Linked DNA regions of Homo sapiens: region 2 is linked to region 1. The links are contacts of gene promoters, found by promoter capture Hi-C in blood cells and fetal thymus (Javierre and others, 2016). All regions are on one chromosome and are shown on one strand. Each heading gives the region's core, a stretch centred on a gene start or on the middle of the fragment in contact. The rest is flanking DNA. Distances are from core to core; before and after follow the strand shown.

What was found. The method cuts DNA at HindIII sites, captures the fragments that hold promoters and counts their contacts. A CHiCAGO score of 5 or more calls a contact.
Region 2: a contact is called between a fragment that was not itself captured here and the fragment with the promoter of LINC01280 in region 1, in 1 of 17 cell types (fetal thymus). The highest score is 5.7, in fetal thymus.

What each region holds. Positions count from the first base shown.
Region 1 is chr2:216,602,972-216,609,692 of GRCh38, reverse strand. LINC01280 (long intergenic non-protein coding RNA 1280) reads left to right here and starts at 2,755. Exons shown (of 4, transcript NR_110392.1): 1 at 2,755-2,831. RefSeq lists an enhancer at 6,019-6,721. The HindIII fragment of the contact is 10,190 bases long and covers 922-6,721 here.
Region 2 is chr2:217,751,382-217,758,102 of GRCh38, reverse strand. The region is part of intron 2 of DIRC3 (disrupted in renal carcinoma 3); the gene reads left to right. Among named protein-coding and RNA genes, the nearest start is that of DIRC3, 36 kb to the left of the region's middle. RefSeq lists a silencer at 1,287-1,456. The HindIII fragment of the contact is 679 bases long and covers 3,495-4,173 here.

The sequences.
Region 1 (6,721 bases), core at 1,506-4,005:
ATGCTTCTTGACCATCAGGAATGGTGGGGACTGTGCCAAGGGGAGAGCTCTTGTGCCTCTGAAGGGGTCAGCTGCCACTCAGCTCCAGCTGATTGTGGCCTGGCAGGAATGAAGGTCCAAGGTAGCTAAAGGGGCTCATTTCAAAGCAAAATTAGTTCTCAGACTTTTCCATGAATTCTCTCAATTTGAAAGTCTTGGCAAGTAATTCGAAATTCAAAAAAGAAAAGAAAAACGTAGTACAAAGCACACCCAGCATGCTGATAAGCTAGATGTGAATATAGGATTGGTACTGAGTCCTCTGGCATAGACCTTTTTTTAACAGTAGAGGTATACGAAGGAAAGGGAGACACAGGCAGGGCACACCAGTGCAACCAGAACCACAGCTGCCTACCGGCTGACAAAGTGTGGTGTTGTCTGCTGTCCACCACGTGACAGGGTCTGCAACAACATCCCCTCCTAGAGTGAGGGAGATGTGTTAAGGTGTGAATAGTGGTTATCAGACATCAGAGAACATCTTCAGCTTTCCAGAAGCATATCAGGAAGGAGCATGTCCTACACTTTAAAGGATGCTGTAGCCCAGGTGTGGTGGCTCATGCCTGTAATACTAGCACTTTGGGAGGCCGAGGCAGGCAGATGACCCAAGGTCAGGAGTTTGAAACCAGCCTGGCCAACATGGCAAAACCCCATCTCTACTAAAAATACAAAAATTAGCAGGGTGAGGTGGCACATGCCTATAATCCCAGCTACTCGGGAGGCTGAGGCAGGAGAATCGTTTGAACCCGGGAGGTGGAGGTTGCAGTGAGCCGAGATTGCGCCACTGTGCTCCAGCCTGGGTGACAGAGCAAGATTCCATCTCAAAAAAATCAATAAATAAACATATTTTTTTTTTTAAAAAAGGATGCTATGAATAAGCCAAAAGCTTGCTGCAATTGTCAGAGGCATTCGAACAAGAGTGACTCCATCTTGAGTGGGGGCTGGGTAAAATAATGCTGAGACCTACTGAGAGGTCTCAAGAGGTTAGGCATTCTTAGTCACAGGATGAGATAGGAGGTTGACAGGACTGGTATCACAAGATACAGGTTATAAAGACCCCACTGATAAAACAGGATGCTGTAAAGAAGCCAGCCAAAACCCACTGAATCCAAGATGGCAAGGAAAGTGACCTATGGTTGTCCTCACTGCTCATTATATGTGGAAGTTACTCTATTTGGTCTAAAAAGGGGAGGAATCCTCAGTTTCAGGAATTGCCCACCTTTCCCAGAAAACTCATAAACAATCCACCCCTTGTTTAGCATATGATCAAGAAATAATCATAAAAATAGCCAACCAGCAGCCCTTGCGGCTACTCTGCCTATGGAGTAGCCATTCTTTTGTTTCTTACTTCTCTAATAAACTTGCTTTCATTTTACTCTATGGACTCACCCTGAATTCTTTCTTGCATGAGATCCAAGAACCCTCTGTTGAGGTCTGGATTGGGACTCCTTTACAGTAACACAATGACGCCCCACTGTCCCACATTTCTTTCTAATGGTCTGCCTTCTGCTGCCCTTGTGGAGTCCCGATTTTAGTGCCTATTTTGTGATTCTGGTTTTGTGGCCTTTCCCTCTCATGGCTTAACACCTTCTCTTCAGACCCCCATAACTGCCCTTGGCTTCCCTCATCAGCTCCAAGGGGGCCTCAGGGTGGACCCAGTGCTCGGGTCCAATGCAGAGATCCCAGGTTTCATCTTGTAGGTCCCGTGAGTCAAGACAGAGGATGGGATGGAAATGTCACCATGGAAAGAAGCGAACTTTAAGATCAGTAATTATTATAACAGCCATCAAAGAGTGGGAATAGAAGCTACGTCCTCAGAGATTCCCAGAAAGAGAGTCAGTGGACAATGATCTTGGTGGTTTGGTCAACTCAAGTCAAGAAGCGTCTACAAATAATCACACACCCTCCCCACTGTGTGCCTGGTGCCCCACGGTGCTTATGTCATGTACTTGTAGAATTCTTGCAACAGTCCCATGAGGTAGGAGTCAAGATTGTCCCCATATTACAGAGGAGAAACTCAGATCCATAGAGGTTAAGTCACTTGCCTCCAGACATTTATCCTCTTTCCAAAACTGGACCCAACTCCTGAGTGTGGCTCCGAAAGAGTGCTTTTCAAATCACCTCTGGCAAAGCACCCGTTTTTGCACCTTAGTTCATCACAGACTGACACTTAATACAATCATAAAGTGAATGACTAGCAAAACGATTAGGCGTTGGAAGGTGCAGAGATGTCAAATAGTTCCCGAAGTTTCTGAGTGTTCTCCGTCTCTATCGCTATCACGTTGTGGTGCAGCAACACACACTGCCCCAGCAGCACAGGCCACACGCACCTGGCGTAGCGCTGTGCCAATCCATCTCACTACACACTCAGGCTCTCAGGATGTAAAGTACTTTTGGGAACCACTTGTCTATATTCCAGCAGCTGAACTGTTCACCTCCATGGGTTCATGACTCTCCTGCCGCGTTTCTGGTTTTCGTGATTTTGGGAGAGGCACCCCGTATTGTACAGGAATGAGATTAATTCGCCCCTCAAGTCCCTTTCAAAACCAAAATGCTAGGATTCCATCTCCTTTTACAGCACCCCAGTTCAGCAGGACGTCTGCAGGGCCAGCTGATTTTGTTCTTGCATTCATTAATAAAAGTAGTGAATGCAACAAGAGCCACCCTTTTCTTTTCTTTGTCTTGTCTGAAAGAGGGCAGGGAGGGAGCAGGAGAGCCCGCAGACGCAGGGGACGTGTCAGACGTGCGACAGGAAGGGCTCAGCGAGGCGAGAGCGAAGCTGTGAGGAAGGAAGGCAGGTGGGCGGAAGGCGGGTAAGGGGGGCCAGGAGGGGGCCGGGTGGCCCCGCAGACAGACACATGGAACCAATCACCCCAGGCAGGGGGTGGGGGTGCACCTGAGAATTACAGAGACACCTGGCCTGCTTTCTGGAGTTGGGGAGGATTGAGAGCTGATGAGGAAGGGGGTTGATGATGGAGCAGGCTGGGCGGGAGGGAAGCACATGGGAGCTCACTCCGGGACCTTATTGTGATATCTGGACTCTTGGTGATTGGAGGGTGGGTACTTCTCATTGTTTGTACAGTCAAGGTCCAGCCAGGGAAGCAGGAGGGAGGGAGTTCGCTAAGTCTTATTCAGAGACTTTAATGAAGGTAATTGGTTACAGAGGTGCTAGAAAAACCTCCTTGGACTGGAGGGGTGACAACAAGAGGTGCTTTTTCAGAGCCCAGGAGCAACGGTCACCCTATTACAATACAATACAATTCCCTACTACAATTGTATTAACAATAACAGTTATTGTATTTAACACTAGTTAAATCTGAATTTCAAATAAATAACAAATAATTGCTAGTATTTTAAGTCAGTATAGAGTGCATTAAATGCCACAGAATTGTATACTTTAAAAAGGTTAAAATGGTAAGATTTATGTTATGTGTACTTTATCATAATCAAAAATGTAATATAAAAATGTATCCAGTTGGACCAGGCACGGTGACTCACGCCTGTAATCCCAGCACTTTGGGAGGCAGAGGCGGGTGGATCTCCTGAGGTTAGGAGTTCGAGACTAGCCTGGCCAACATTGTGAAACCCTGTCTCTACTAAAAATACAAAAAATTAGCCAGGTGTGATGGCACACGCCTGTTGTCCCAGCTACTAGGGAGGCTGAGACAGGAGAATCGCTTGAATCTGGGAAGCAGAGGTTGCAGTGAGCCGAGATCGCTCTACTGCACTCCAGCCTGGGCGACAGAGTGAGACTCCATCTCCAAAAAAAAAGTATCCAGTTTATCTGCAATTCACATTTAACTGGTGGCCTGTATTTTATTTTAAAAATTTAGTACTGTACATCTAGCAGGTACTAGAATGATGGTGGGGGCTGCCCCCAAGGGAGCTGCGGCCACACAGGAGTCAACTGCTGCCCAAGAAGGCAGGAAGTAGAGGGACTGGAGAAGGAGGAATGGCCGGCTTCTCCCCTCCTTCTGGTGGCCCTCCAGTGATTTACCAGTTCCTCCAATCAGCCACAGCTACCTGGAAGCCAGAGGGCAAAGGCACCTCAGAAATGCAGGTGCAAGGAAAGGACTGAAGAGCAAGCATGCAGTCATTTTAGATGACCCAGGAAGGCTTGACCTGCCTGGCTCAATAGCCACAGTTGTATTTTCTCTGCAGGCTGAAATGAAGCTGCAGGTTCAGTGGTGTTATCCCTGAGGTTCTTGTTCTCCCTACCCTGATCCATGGATAAGTAGTTACTGCTTGCTGCCAAGGATGAAGGACATGAACTCATGTGTGGAGCAACTTCTATGTACAAAGCTGCCCACTAGGAATCCAGGAGAAGTGCTTCAGTTGGGAAGTTCAGGATATGGTTCCCCAATGCCCATTCATTTATTCATTTATTCAGCATCTGCTTATGAGATAGGCATGGTCCACGGCAATTGAGTAGATGGTAGTATAGAAGGCAGACACATTCCACATTCTTAACGTACTTATGGATCTAGTCTGTTGGGAAGATTTCAAATGCAATGAGAATTAACTAAAATATAAGATGAAATGGTAAATGTAAGAAGAGTCTAGCAGAGCAGTGATGAGGGTGCACATGACCAAAAGAAAATGGACAGTATAAGTGATGCTCACAGAAGGTAGCTAGTGTCCGGCATGGTGCCAGGTGCTGAGGAACAGCAGGGCAGAACTGGGCATTTGCTCACCTCTCTTTCCAGGAGATCATGATGTTGCCCAAAAGAATCTCCAGATGGCAACTACAAATATCTCTTTACCATCTTGGCTTCTCATAATCCTGCAGGGAGGCCCTTGAAGGGAAGAGAACAGATTTGGTTGCCTAGAGCTCTTGGGTTCATGCCAGGTTCAGCCTCTAGCTCTGGGGGTCCTGGGGCCTCAGTTTCCCATCTGTGAAGTGAGGGGTGGCCTTGATGATCTCTGCCCCCACTCTGTGATTCCTCAGGTTCTGTGATGTCAGTACTTCTGTGTTCCAGATCTGCTTCCCTCTTACTGCTGACAGCTATCCAAGTGGCAGGAGCTACCATCAGTCATTTGTCACTCTGGAGCACCAAGCTCAAAGCTCCAAATGAATGACTGGATGAATGTATACAGGTCACCTTGTGCAGTGACAAAGATTCTTTGCTTGGACAAACTTCAGTTAGGCTTCTGAATCTCCTCTGAGATTCTTTCTTGTAAAATCCAGTTTTAGCAAAGAGCCCTGCTAAATCAGTCTAGCAAGAAGCTCCCTGATCCTTGAGATCTGGACACTGTTTCTAGCTGATCAGGTTCCTCATCCTCTACCATCCCCCAGGTGCTGTCTGATCACCCTGGCCTGTCTTCAGCAAGAATCCTGTTAGCTCTGTTTGGCCAGAATCCCCCTTACCTCTAATGTTTACTCTCAGTAATTTTCCATCCACTGACCCCCACCCTGCTCCTTGGCTACAAATCCCCACTTGCCCAGGTGAGCCCAGTCTCTCTCCCCTGCTGTGAGACCTCATTGCAGTGGTCCCTAAATGTATAGGGATAGTCCTGAGTAAAGTCTTCCTTACTCTGGTTTAGCAAATGTCATTGAATAATGTCTTTAACAGCAGGAATGTCTGAATATTGGACTGTGGCTGTTGCGTCAGGCTGGAAGGGTTGAATCCTGGTTCTGCCACTTACCATCTTGAGCAAAGTTATTTGAACTCTCGGGCGTGTCTGTTCCTTCATTTGTAAAATGGGAATAATAATAGTACCTAATAGATTTATAAGACTGAATAAAATCATGCATGTAAAACTGCTGAGAACTATGTCTATTTGCTATCATTATTTATAAATATCATTATTTATTAATCACCCTTCATAGATTTAGGAGCCAGTAATAAATTCACTCTCACTGCCTATATTTATCGTTTTTTCAATCTGTGGTTTATGAATCACTAGTGGATTATGAAATCACTTTAATAGGTATAATAGTATCCTTGTTTAATGACTACTTATTATAATTATATACAAAAGATAAGCATATGGAAAAAAGAATATAATAGAAATATTAGTGTATCGCATGTAGTAAGCATAAGTATCCTCATGTGAAATTTGATTTTTCAGGATGTATGGTGTATGTGTGGACACGTGTGCACACACATAGTGTAGTTTGCTGGGTTGTGATGTAAAATGTGTTTCTTACCGGGTGTCATAGTCCAAGAAATTTGAAACCACTGCTTTAGGTTAAATCACCATCCCCATAATTCTGCCCTTCATGCTTTTCAACACTCCAGTTCCCCTCTGACCTTCAAGCAAACACCACTTCCCCCTCCTCCACCTCCTCCTCCCCTCCCCTTCCTCTCCTCCCCTTCCTCACACTGTATTCACCCCTTCCTTCATCCTCCCTGCCTCTGAGAATCAAAACTGCCCAGCCTTTCTCTCCCTGGAAGCCCAGCTCCTCCTCCCCCACCCTCCCAGTGTAGGGTGCCAGAAAGGTGCTCTGGGTGCCAGACAAGCTGGGAGCCCGGGAGCTGCCACAGATGCTGGTGGTGCTGGGGCTGGCAGGAAAAGAGCCGGCGACCAAGGGATGCGGTTTGGCATTTTATCATCAGAGCATGCTCCAGGTTATGTACAAAGCAAAGTCAGAGGCCTGGGGTCAATTGTGAGGGAAAGACGTTTCTGAGGGGAGAGAGGGATTAAGCTGGAGGGAGGATGAAGAGGAGAGAAAGAACTGAAAGAC
Region 2 (6,721 bases), core at 2,585-5,084, 1.1 Mb before region 1:
AGATCAGGGTGCAGAGTCCATGTCTGGTGAAGGCCCACTTCCTGGTTTGCAGATGACCATCTTCTCACTGTATCCCCACATAGTAGAGACAACAAGCTCTAGTCTCTCTGTCTTATTAAAAGACACAGTCCAATCATGGGGATCTCTACCCTCATAACCTCATCTAAATCTAACTGCCTTCCAAATGCTCAACTTCCTAATATTATGCCGTTGGGGGTTAGGGTTTAAATATATGAATTTGGGAGAGGGATATAAATATGCAGTCCACAATAGTTCTACATACAAACATACAGTCCATATAGTCCTTCATGCATTTATATCTGTATTTTTATACCTCTACATATTGCAAACTGAGCTCACACCAATATCTCTAATTCCACTGGGTTTATTCTTCTTTTCTTTTTTCCATATTTCCTACTCTCATTTCCAGTAATGAGAAACGTGGCTCCTATTATCCCTAGTACAGTTGTCCCTCAGTATCCATGGGGGATTTGTTCCAGAACTCCCTCAGATGCCAAAATCCATGGATGCTCAAATACCTTATGTAAAACGGTATAGTATTTGCATGTAACTTACACACATCCTCCTGTAACCTACACACATCCTCCTGTAACCTCTAGGTTACTTGTAATACAAAACACAATGTAAATGCTACATAAATAATTGTCATACTATATTGTTTAGGAAATAATGACAAGAAAAAAAAGCCTGTACATGTTTGGTACAGTTGTAACCAGCCATTTTTCCCCCAATATTTTCAATCCACAGTTGGTTTAATCCACAGAAACCACGAATGTGGTGGGTGACTGTTTTACCTGTTTTGTTCCATCTCTCTATATGTAAGCAGTCTCCATCACCACAACCCCCCAACTCCCACCCTTTTGCACAGACACTCTCCTCTCCTTGCACGGAACATATTTATACAAAAAACTTTCACATGTATCTGAAATTCAAATTTAACTGGGCATCCTGTATTTTTGTTTGCTAAACCTGTTAGTCCCAGAGGGCCAACCTAACTTCCATGCTCCCGGCCTTCAGGTGACTGTGCTGCAGCCCACGTTCTCTGCCCAGCCCTGGTTGTGTCCCTTCCTTGGAAGAGGTGTTGATCTCTAGAAACCCCCCCCAAAAAACTTTCCTGTTGCTCATCTCCATTTCAATCAGCTTCCAGGAACTAAACTTGCAACATCAAGCCTCTGCTTTATTATTTTCCTGGTTCTAAGATCCCAGAGGTCCCCACCCACACCCGTGTAAGCCCAGTTCCCAGAGCAGCCTCGATCCTGGCCCCAGGGCCTGGGGGTGATTCCAGAGAAGCCCCTTTGAGGGATTACGGGCGCAGGACGCTGGGCCTGCGGGCCTCCCGAGGGCTCCCGCCCACCAGGGGGCAGTCTTCACCTGCGTGTGAGCAGCTCCGGAGGCCCGGGCAGGGGAAGGGGTGGGCGCAGGGATAGCTCGCTGGGGGAACCCATGCGGGGCATACGTGCGTGAGGGCACGTGAGGGCCGTGCCGGCCAGAGCCCAGCGTGCGCGGCCTTGCGTGCGTGCACACGCATATGTGTCCAGGTGCCTACGCAGGTGCCTGACCCTGGGCAAGTCGCTCCGTCATGCGGACCTCAGTTTTCTCATCTGTCCGACGAAGGTATCTTTCCATCTCTGACTGTCGGTGTTCTTTATCCAAGACTGCTCAGCACATTGGGTCCTCTCTTTAGAGCCATCTCTGTTTATTGAACAGAAGAGGCAGGGATTCCAGGCCATTGAATTGATGCGGGGGGTGAGTGGGAGGAGACAGTGAGGCACGGGGGGTTTTTGTCTTTTGCTCCCCAAAGCAATACTCTTTAATTGGTTTCTAAATATTTGTATTTTTATTTTTTACAAAACTGTATTTCAAAATAATGTGAGTCTTTAAGTCCTATGCAAAGCTACCAGAATCCTTGGTCGTGCTTCCCTACTCATTTGCAGGAATCCGGGCAGAACATGAATTCTCAGAACTGGTGGGACTTTCCAACCAGTTGCTTCTCATGCAGAGGCAGAAAAATGAGGGGATCAACAGCCCAGGCCTCAGGGGCACCCTTCTTGGCCCTTACAGGTAATTTAATTGCTGTGCCTCAGAGTCTCTTCTGTAAAATGGGAATGATAATAGTACCCTAAGTGATAGTATTATTATTAAATATTGGCTGAGTGTTCCCAGCTTTGTCATAATACAGCTCTGTGACCTTGGCCCCTCTCTCAGGACCTTTGTTTCCTCATCAATAACGGGGAATGAAGCACTCATTTTGCGTGGTTGTGATGAACAGGTAGGTTGTTTGTGAAATCACCTGGTGGTACCTAGTAGGTATTAAATACCCATTTCTTTCTTGGATAAGTATTGCTTCCCAGTCAACACTTATCTTCCCTGTTGCCCTGGCCTCAGCAAGGTGACAGTGATAAGTCAACTGATCCCTTTCAGCAGAGACCTCTTCAGGACATCTGCCTTAGATGAAGGAGAGTGTAGGTGTTCAGGAAGCTTGGGGGAGATTGATTTACTTCCTGGAGGGCTTTTTGTTAGTCCTGAAATGTCACTATGTGGTTTGCTGCTTCCTCTGCCTGCGGGTGATGGGGTAGGGGTAGAAGGTGGAGGGGGTGCAGGTGTCTTGTTGGGAGCCCCTGGAAGTCACCTCTTTAGAGGGGCCGTCTCTGAGATACGACGATTCATTTTCTGTTATCCTTATATTTTTGTCTCTACTGCCCCCAACTCCCCCCATGTAAACAGCCTGCTCCTTTGAGATCCCTGCTTTGGGAGACTTGCTGCTGCAGGCCAGGGAGTAGGAATTGCTTTCTTTTCTTTTTTCTTCCTTTCTGGGAGCCTGAGTTCTTTGAGATGTGAGTGCCTTTGAGGGAAGAGTCCCGGAGGCAGAGCACCCTTTTCCCTGTCAATGCCCAGGGTGGGCAGGACCTCAGAGTGGGCTGACAGTGTGATGTGTCTGTGACTAGCTTTCTCTGGCACTGTTTGGCACAGAAGCAGCAGAGCCCCTGGGCTCCTGGGTACTGTGTGGCCTTGCATCAGTTATCTCAGTGTAACCAGTGGGGACAAATGGCCAGTGACCACGCATGCACCCCTTCCAGTGATGCTGGTGAGAGAGAGGATGGGCGGGTTCCATTAATGACCAGGACAAAATTTGCTGTCTCAGGTGGGATGGGGGCTCAGAGATGGATTTAACTTGACTTAAATAATTTTTTTGAAAATTATATTTCTCATATACCTGAAATCGTGGAGTTTGATTTATAGTTGCTATTTCTGAATTTTCCTTAGCACCTGCACAGCGTCTTGTATGCAGCAAGCACTCACTAAGCCCTTCTCCTTACCCTGCCAGTCTACCTATTAGACTAGCCCTGGTGTTCAGGACTTAAAGTAATGGGCCAGCTAGGAGCCTCCAGGGCTGGGTCTCTAGACTGCAGGTGCCATGAGATGGGTACTCCCAACAGTCCAGCCTCAGACACATTGCTCTGCTTGACAAAGCTTTGCAATTCCCATGAGTGACAGCACCAAGAGCTACCATGTCTTGAGAGCTTCTGATCTGCTGGCATGGTGTGAAGCCCTTAGCATGGTATCTCATTAGTTTTCACAGCAGCTCTATAAAGTCCAGACTACATTGTCTCTATTTTGCAGATGAGAAAACTGAGGCTTGGAAAGATGGCAGAGCCAGAATACTATCCCAGGTGGTTGGACACCAGAGTCACTCATTTTAAGCACTTAGGACAAGTGACTGATGGACTGACTGAATAAAGAAGGACAGGAATAATAAAGTTGTCAAATTGGGGAATGGCAAGACAGGATGTATTTATTTCCTGCCTTTGGCACCTGTCTTCAGTGACCCTTTCCCTCCCTTTTCCCCTTAGGCCCCACCCAGAGAGGCTGATTTCCAGTCTGTGGGGTCCAAGGGGGATTGAGGGTCCCCTGTCTGTGCCTTCTGGACCCTCTGGGAGCTCTTGGCTCTTGACTCTGGGCTGGGAGGCTGGAGCCCTATTGCCTTTTCTATCAGGGATGGACAGAGACATTCTTTTTCATTTTCTTTCCCCAATGCCATTTTGTTAAATCAGAAATCCTTGAGGAGTGAAGTCACATTTTCCATGCCCCTGAAAGCTCTGGAGAGCTGATGAGTGTTATTGTAACCAGAGGAGACTGGGGACAAAGGAAGCTTATAATTTTGTAAACGAGGCTTGGGAGTGCCCTGCCTGCAATGGCTTTCCAGAGGGAGAGGCAGAATTCGGAAAAACCAGAGGCAAGAAGAATGGCAGGACTGGCCAGCCTTGAGCCTTGCACCCAGGCAGAGACCCTCCTGCCCCCTTCTCCAGTTACTGTTTCCCAGCCTTCCCTGGGGAAGGAAGTTGGCTTGCTGAAGCGGCAAGATCTCTATGCTTAGAATGAAGCACGTGGGGTCACAGTGCCGGCTCATTCACCTCAGTTTCCTCATCTGCAAAATGGGCTGGTGAAGGATCTGCCCCAAAGAGTCTGCACTCAGCCTGGCGATGGGGCTGTGTTTCATAGAGAAGGAAACTGAGGCATGTGTTTTTCAGATAGGAAGTGGCAGAACCGGGATTTAGATCCCGGCAGTCTTACTCCTGAGTGGGAACTCCCACCCCTTGCTCCACAGCGCTTAGGCTCACCAGAGGCCAAATCATGTGAATCAAATGTGACCCGCGTGCTGCCACCTGGGGTCAGCCCTCTTTGCCCCAGCCTGGAGGGACAGAGGCTTCCGCTGGAAGGTTAGGCTCTTAGGTCTCTTCAAACCTTAACATTCTCGGACCTTCTCCTAGTGGCCAGACTCTGTGACCTACTGCGTGGGAGGGAAGCCTGGGAACAGGTGGCCTATTTCAGCCCCTCTCAAATGAGTTCCAAGCAGGTGGCTGTTGCTTCCTCTTGCTGGCCATGGCTTCTCACTAGGCTTGCACAAAAATGGAGAGAAGACCAAATAAAGCTCCTTTGAGGACAAATGTCTTGGACAGGGCTGGGGGTGGGGATCCAAAGATGGACAGAGCCAACCCCCAACCCTTGCAGGGCTCCGAGCCTGCCTGCTTCCAGGCTGCAGGTCTTCTGTGCAGGCTGGGGTTGGGTGTTCAGGGCTGATGGGGGCAGGCATGTGAGTGATTTGGGGAAAAGGGCTGTGTGGAGGGGATTGGGTCGTTCACACTCAGCCTGGGTCTGTCACTGAGCATGCGCTCCCTTCTCCCTACAATCCTGGCCCTAGTTATCCTACTTCTTTAGCCCTGAAGCCCTAAAGCTGCCCCCTCCAGCAGGTGGCCGAGATTTCCCAGGTGGACTCGGGGGTCCTCCTCACTCAGGCCAAGCTGCCCATGAGGAGCTGCCCATGAGGAGCTGCCCATGAGGAGCTGCCCATGAGGAGCTGCCCATGAGGAGCTGCCCATGAGGAGCTGAAGGGTGATGAGGATCTGCCTGTTTCCTCCGTGAGAGTTCCTCTTTCACTGGCGCAGGCATTGCCCTCCTCAACTTGTGAATGGAAACCCATTCCAAGGGGGGTCTGGCTTTGCCCAGGTGGGTTTGAGATCCCCTAACCCAAGCCGCCTTCATCTCCCCTCCAAAAGCACAGGCTCACTCACAAAGCTCATCTCAGCAGGTTCTCCTCACAACCATGGCTACACTCCTCTCCCTGCTGCCTTCTCTCTGTGTGTATGTCTCAGTGTCTCTGTGTCTCAGAGTCTCTGTCTCTCAGTGTCTCTGTATCTCAGTGTCCCTGGCTCTCAGTGTCTCTGTCTCTCCGTGTCTCTGTGTCTCAGTGTCCCTGGGTCTCAGTGTCTCTCTCATGTTGTCTCTGTCTCTCAGTGTTTCTGTGTCTCAGTGTTTCTGTCTCTCAGTGTTTCTGTCTCTCAGTGTCTCTCTCATGTCTCTGTCTCTCAGTGTCTCTCTCTGTCTCAGTCTCTGTTCCTCTCAGTCTCCCTCTCAGCATGTCTCTGTATGTGTCTCTCAGTGTCTCTCTGCATCACTCTCTGTGTCTCTCTCTCTATGTCTGTGTGTCTCTCTTGATGTGTGTCTCTCTTGCTCTGTTTCTCTCTCGGTCTCTCTCTCTCTCTTCCCCTCCCCTCCCTCTCTAATTTCATGGGACTTGTCTCAGTGTGAGGAAAGCATCTAATTAGTCTTAGAGGTCCTCCTGTCCAGAATTTCTAAAGCCGTGCTCATGACAAATGTCCCAGGCTTGAACGGGACATTTGAGAAACTCTGGGCCAAGAGGAGCAGCACAGAGCCACCCAGAGGATGGCTCTATAAAATGGGGTTACAATAGTGCCTTACCCAGAGGATTTGAGATAAACCACTTAGAACAGAATTCATGTGTGGAGGCCAATACAAAACATCACCAAAGTTAAGCTGCTTTCCCTCTCCTCTTCACTGTAGGGTGCTCAAAGCCTCTACTATGCTAAGGAGAACAGAGAGCTCCAAGAGGGTTGGTAGAGTTGCAGCATTTCCCAGGATTATTTGTCCAGTGAAACCTCTTGCCATGGAGCATCTAGTGGGGTCAGAGTTCCTCAAATCATAGTTGGGAAATATTGCTAATCCAAGCCCCTTATTACAAAGGGAAGTGGAAGCCTCCCTCCCCAAGTCCCTAGAGCCAACTGGGGCACACGGTCAGGAGGCTGGGCTCCTGCTGGGGGAGCAGCTGAACTTGGCTCCAGGATAGCACCCACGGGCCTCCTGTGGTGCTCCCAGGAGCCTTGGCAGTGTCCCTCTAGGGAGT